2 separate regions of the Homo sapiens genome follow, and region 1 is linked to region 2. Evidence: promoter capture Hi-C in human tissues and cell types (Jung and others, 2019). All regions are on one chromosome and are shown on one strand. The core of a region is centred on a gene start or on the middle of the fragment in contact, and the rest is flanking DNA. Distances in the headings are between cores, read along the strand shown.

What was found. Contacts are between HindIII fragments. The study calls those that stand out against the background at their distance.
Region 1: a fragment that was not itself captured here is called in contact with the fragment with the promoter of CDH16 in region 2 in 2 of the 25 tissues and cell types used here (dorsolateral prefrontal cortex and mesendoderm cells).

What each region holds. Positions count from the first base shown.
Region 1 is chr16:67,100,854-67,104,114 of GRCh38, forward strand. CBFB (core-binding factor subunit beta) reads left to right here. Exons shown (of 6, transcript NM_022845.3): 6 at 1-205. Among named protein-coding and RNA genes, the nearest start is that of PHAF1, 7.5 kb to the right of the region's middle. The HindIII fragment of the contact is 4,683 bases long and covers 1-3,261 here.
Region 2 is chr16:66,917,278-66,920,560 of GRCh38, forward strand. CDH16 (cadherin 16) reads right to left here and starts at 1,608. Exons shown (of 18, transcript NM_004062.4): 1 at 1,527-1,608; 2 at 744-801; 3 at 365-448. The coding sequence starts at 788. The HindIII fragment of the contact is 12,408 bases long and covers 1-3,283 here.

The sequences.
Region 1 (3,261 bases), core at 468-2,967, 180 kb after region 2:
AAAACTACTTCTATTAAGTTATTGATGCAATTTGATATTTTTTCATAATCTATATTTAAACAAAATTACATCATTGCATCATCTTTTCTAAATTCATCTCCATTAAAACTTGCCTTAAGCTACCAGATTGCTTTTGCCACCATTGGCCATACTGTGTGTTTGTTTGTTTAATTTACTTTCACAATAAACTTCTGTGTAGTAAAAACAGGGTCTTGGCTCTTTCTTGACCTAACCCAGTAATTTCTAAGAAAGCAACAACAGTGGCATCTAGTGGTAATTTCTGTTGATTCCAAAGAAGACTACTTTAAATATAGGTATCACAAGGTATACAAATCCCCCAGTGTATATTATGGTTTTCAAGAAATCTGGCTTGATTTACCCATCCTGTGAGATATGACCATAAAGTAGTGATGTTGGGAGAAAGAATTTTAAATTACACATCCAAATTAGTTCCATCTTTCAAGCTAGTTGTTTTGGAAATATACAGCCGTTTTGATTGTGCTGGTGTTATATCAAACATTCTTAAGACTCCTGGCATTTTCCTACAACAGAAAAGTAAGCCCTTTTCCTTGAAAGTATGCCTTAAGCTTGACACATGATAAACAGATTCACTCATTAACCACAAGACTTACTGCAAATGACAAAAATGCCTTTAAATTCTGAATTGACACCATTAAGGGAAATTCCAAAGAGTAGGATTCATGCTCTGAGAGTTAATTTCAAAAAATTGAGCAGTAACAGCATGGTTTTAGTAAGTATATCACTTCTAGAAACATAATTGGATATGCTAGCTCGGGGCTGCTTGGTGAAAAATATCTTACTTGATTTATGCCTCATTTGGCAATGAGGAGCTTTTCAATCTATAAACCATTGTATTATCCATAACACATTACCCCAAAACTTAGCAGCTTAAAACAATAAATACGTATTATCCCACAGGTGAGTCACAAATCTGGAAGTAGCTAAGATCAATGGTTCTGGTTCAGAGTTCCTCATAAGGTTAGAGTCATCCTGGGCTACAGTCATCTCAAGGATTGACTGGATGAAAGATCCCCTTTCAAACCCACTAATGTGGTCACTGACTGGCCTCGGTTCTTTGCAGCTTGCTAGATGAAAGGCAGATGTTCCTTGCTAGATGTTGGACAGAGACCTGCTTCCATTTCATGCCCAGCTGGGTCTTTCCATAGGACAGTGCACAGCAGGGTAGCTGGCTTCCCCCAAGGCAAGTGATCCAAGAGAGCGCACACCCAAGTTGAAAGCACAGTCTTTTTTTTTTTTTTTTTTTTTTTTTTTTTGAGATGGAGTCTCGCTCTGTTGCCTAGACTGACTGGACTGCAGTGCTGCAATCTCAGCTCACTGCAACCTCCCCCTCCCGGGTTCAAGCGATTCTCCTGCCTCAGCCTCCCACGTAGCTGGGATTACAGGTGCCCATCAACATGCCCGGCTAATTTTTGTATTTTTCATAGAGACGGGGTTTCACCATGTTGGCCAGGCTGGTCTCAAATTCCTGACCTCAAGTGATTCGTCCGCCTCGGCATCCCAAAGTGCTGAGATTACAGGTGTGAGCCACCATGCCCAGCCAAAAGCACAGTCTTAGAACTGAATCTTGGGCTGCCATATTGTATGTTAGAATCAAGTCACTGGGTCTGGTCCACACTCAAAGGGGGAGGAATATTAAGCTTCATCTGTTGAAGGCGGGGATGTCAAAGCATTTGTGGACATCTTTCTAAACCACCATGGTGATATTACCAAATATACGTAACTGAGTATAAGATACCTTTGGTGTTTTGCCGGGCGCGGTGGCTCACACCTGTAATCCCAGCACTTTGGGAGGCCGAGGCAGGCAGATCATGAGGTCAGGAGATCGAGACCATCCTGGTTAACGGTGAAACCCCGTCTCTACTAAAAATACAAAAAATTAGACGGGTGTGGTGGCGGGCGCCTGTAGTCCCAGCTACTCGGGAGGCTGAGGCAGGAGAATGGTGCGAACCCAGGAGGTGGAGCTTGCAGTGAGCCAAGATCGCACCACTGCACTCCAGCCTGGGCAACAGGGCGAGACTCCATCTCAAAAAAAAAAGATACCTTTGGTGTTTTAATCTAAACATTCTTTAAAGGTAAGATTTCAGTCTTGCAGATTTGAATACATGATTCCCCCTAGATAGCATCAACCCCTTTTCTTGCATCACCATCATATATTCATATATGGCATTTCAGAAATGTTCCAAAGCTAAAAAATGACAGTCACAGGGTGAAATCATGGATGGAAATGGCAGTTTAGTTTGTTTAAATATGGAATATTCTGAAACAGATAAGTCACTGTTTTAGTCAACTCCCAGCTTTTGGTTAGAAAATTTAAGCAACTTAGAATTAAGGTCGTTATTGGCCTCATTCAGATTTCAGAAATGTTGAGGAGATGTTGTAGATAAAAATAAAAGGCCAGGCACAGTAGCTCATATCTGTAATCCCAGCACTTTGGGGGGCTGAGGCAGGAGGATTGCTTGAGGCCAGGAGCTCAAGACCAGCCTGGGCAAGATAGCAAGACCTTCATCTGCACAAAAATATTTTTCTTAATTAGCCAGGCATGGTGGTGCACACCTCTAAGTCCCAGCTACTTGGGAGGCTGGAGTGGGAAGATCGCATGAGCCGAGGATTTTGAGGTTGCAGTGAGCTATGATCTTGCCACCGCACTCCATCCTGGGCCACCAGAGCAAGATATTACCTATAAAAATAAAAATGGAAAATGTTGAAGTTCTATTTTTTTTTTGGAGACTAAAAGTATGGTTATCATTTAGGGGGGGAAATATCCAGTGTCCAAAATAAACATGTTCCCTGCTCACAAGGAATCTACAGTCTAGCTAAAAAGCTGACCAAAGGCAGTAACACTGTTTAAGTTACATTAGAAGTACTGGCTCTTATAGTACATCTATTCTAGTCTGGGTGGTGAATAAAAGCTTCCCTAAAGAGATGTTTTGAGGGTGGGTGCGGTGGCTCACGCCTGTAATCCCAGCACTTTGGGAGGCCGAGGCGGGTGGATCACAAGGTCAGGAGATCAAGACCATCCTGGCTAACATGGTGAAACCCCGTCTCTACTAAAAAATACAAAAAATTAGCTGGGCGTGGTGGCGGGCGCCTGTAGTCCCAGCTACTTGGGAGGCTGAGGCAAGAGAATGGCATGCACCCAGCAGGCGGAGCTTGCAGCGAGCCGAGATTGCACCACTGCACTCCAGCCTGGGCGAAAGAGTGAAACTCCGTCTCAAAAAT
Region 2 (3,283 bases), core at 358-2,857:
GACAAGAGCGAAACTTCGTCTCAAAAGAAAAAAAAATGTATAACGTTACCTTCAGGCTATGTGTATAAGATGTATATGAAACATAAATGAATTTCCTATCTAGATTTGGGTTCCATTCCCCAAGATATCTCATGATATATATGCAAATATTCCAAAATCTGAAGAAAAAAAAAAATCCAAAATCTGAAACACTTCTGGTCCCAAGCATTTCAGATAGGGGACACTCAACCTGTGTAACGTGTACATACTCTCTGGAAAGCAGGATTTCAAAGAGAAACAGCAAGAGGAAGGGTGCCAGAGGAAGGAGAAGCAGGACTTTGCGGGGAGGGATCCCCCCGGCCCCAACCCCAGCTCTCCGGCTCACCTTGGTCAGGTATAAAGGGAAATTTCCACCATAGTTTTCTGGAACTTCCACAGACAGCTCTGCAGGCTGGGCCTTGGGGAGAGCCTGTGGGAGGATTCTCACCTTGTCACCAGGCTCTATCTTCCTGCGTGGGCACTGAGACCCAACAGAAGAGCGGAATTTCCGCCCCTTCCCAGGGCCTGGCTGTACCTTAGTCCATCCACCCGCGCTCTGGTCTTTGACCTCCTCATCCCACAGTGGCTCTATAGTCCCAGCTCTGACCCCTCCCATGCCTTGCACCGTTCTCACGGTCAGTGCAATTGGTCCAGGTGGAGTTGGGGGCAAGGGTGTCAACCCCCAAAGCCAAGACCTGAAGGAGAGGGGGCAGGGCCTAGCTCACCTGGGGGACGGAGACACAAAGCAGCCACAGCCAGGCAGGGACCATGGTCAGGACAGGCCTGAGGGACACGGCAGTGAGGATCCAGCCCAGGTGGGTAGGGAGGGGCTTTCCATCCCACACACACAACTAGTGGGATCGTACTGCAGACTAGTCTTCTCTTCCTCCCCTCCAAAGGAGCTGAGGCTCTCCATCTCCTGCAGGGTAGTGCCCTGCTCCTCGGCCAGGCCCACCAAGGCCCCCAGGCCCAGCCACCCTGCTTCTAGGCTCTTGGTCCATCAAGCACTCTATCAGAATTTCACCTCCAGACCTCCAGCTCCTTCTCACCATAGCCTCCCCAGGCCGCAGATCCCAAAGTGGTAATTTTCTAGCAATCCCCCAAATCACAAAAGTTTGAAGCTGGAAAGTTCCTGAAGACTTGGAGGGTCACTTCCTGAAGTCACCTCTTGTTGCAGGCAAGGCCTGAATGCTGGGGTCTGGCCAAGGTCACAGAGGACTTGACCACAGGAGGAGTCCTCCTAGCTCAGGGCCTCTGGGACTGTCCTGCCTCCCACTGCCACCTTCTAGACAAGGAGAACCCCCGGAGCAGGAGCCCGGCCCTTGTCTCATCATTTTCCAGCCCTTGTCATGGAGCTGGGCAGGCAGAGCAGCGACAAATCGACAACCCCTCTAAGATGAGGCCCTGGGAATTCTTTCCCAGATGGCGAGGACAGGGCAGTGTTTCTCCTTTCCCCACCACCAACCTCAGCCTCAGCCATGCCCTCCCCTCCACTCCCAGCCCCTCACCCTCCAGCGCCCAAGACTGGCTCCCTTGGTCCAGCTGCCAAGCAAGAAGAGAGCTCCTTCTCCAGGGGGCTCTGGCCAGGCTGGGCTGGGTGGGGCAAGGCAGGGCACTTGAGCAGGTAGGAGGGTTCAGCCACGCTTGCTCAGGAGTGGAAAAGGCCACTGGGCCCACAGCAGCAGGCCTGGCCCCGCCCAGCCCCCCAAGTTACTCATTGACTTTGGAAAGCCAGGAGCTGCTCAGCATCCGTGACTGCCAGCTCCAGGAGGTGGGGAGATGGTTGGCCTGGCACTCCCTCGACCCCAGCACAGCCCAGGAGGTATTCCTTGGCCCTCTGGTTCTGGACGTTACTTTTTCTGTGGCTCCAGACTTGGTCTGACTTATCTCCCAGGCTCCAGTGTCTGCAGCCACACCTTTTCACACTCTGTTCCTTTTGCATGGAACACCCTTCCCACTCATTCATCTGTGTGGTAAGCACCTGCTCATGCATGCTTCAGTGCTCAGCTCAAATATTCCTTTTTCCAGGAAACTTCCCCTATGTTCCCAGGCTTGTTCAGGAGCCTCCTCTGGGAATGCCCCTCCCCCTCACACCATGCCATGTGCTATCTCTATTAATACACAGAGGACACCAGCTTGTCATTGTCTGCCTCTTCCATTAGATTGGGAGCCCTTTGAGAGCAGAACTCAGGGACTCAGGAATGACCTGGCTCTCATTCTGCCCTGGCAGCTCCGCATGGCTTGTGGAACTAAGACAAGGAGCTGGAGGTTGCAAAGGATGGGTGAGCAGTACATGAGTGGAAGTGGGTATTGGGGCTCCAGACCACCCCCCCCAGGGGGACCTGTGGTGGGGGAGTGCAGCAGCCTATGAGCTCCCGAAGTCCTTACACTGGCCACTCAACAGTGACAGGGCTGAGACAGTGGGCAGTCTCATGCCCCTAAGAAGATTAAACTGGCTCAGGTGACCTTGAGGGAGTTGCAGGGCTGAACAGGGGCTCTCCCCGCAATGAGGGCAGCCAAGCAGAGCCAGGAGATGCTTCTGGGGCCTGGGAGTCTGGAATGAGGGGAGAGGGTGGGAAGAAGGTCTCCAGTCCCTCTCCAGCCTTGGAGCTTCCCATGGTCCCCACGAAGTCCTTCCCACTGTACATCTGATTAGTCTCTCTCAGGCCAGAAGCTACCCCCAGCTGCCCCCAGCCTTGTCACAAGCTGAGTGCCTGCTTCAGGGTCACTCTGGCACCCAGCCTGGAGCAGTGTAGTGTGGGGAGGTTGAAGGGGGTTTCACACGTGTTAAGCTCCTGCTCTGTGCCCAGCACTGCTCTGAGCACATACCTTCATTATGCCACATACTGCGTTCTGAAGGGGCATTGGGCACATGCTGGGGCACAGAGAAGCTGAGTGGTTTGCCTAGGGTCACACAGTCAATAAGTGACAGAGCCAGGAAGGCCTGGGGACCCTCACTTGATCTGAAAATACCATGCCTTCTGCATTCCTTGAAGTATGTGGGGAGGAGGGGCAGAGCAGCAACAGCTCTGAGCAGTTACCTCTGCCCTGGGGAGCACGTGGGTGAATCTCAGCGCTCCCCTGTACATGGAGGGGCAGCCCTCAAGCCTCCTCCTGCCATTCAATAAGCTGCAATCAGGATTCTAACCAGGTTGCCAGGGCTCCCTGGAGTCTGTGGAATGAATAAATTGAATAAATTGAACTAAGGAAGGAATGTATGGACCTTGGCCCAGAACCTTCTTAGAAACTGCCCCCCACCTTGCCC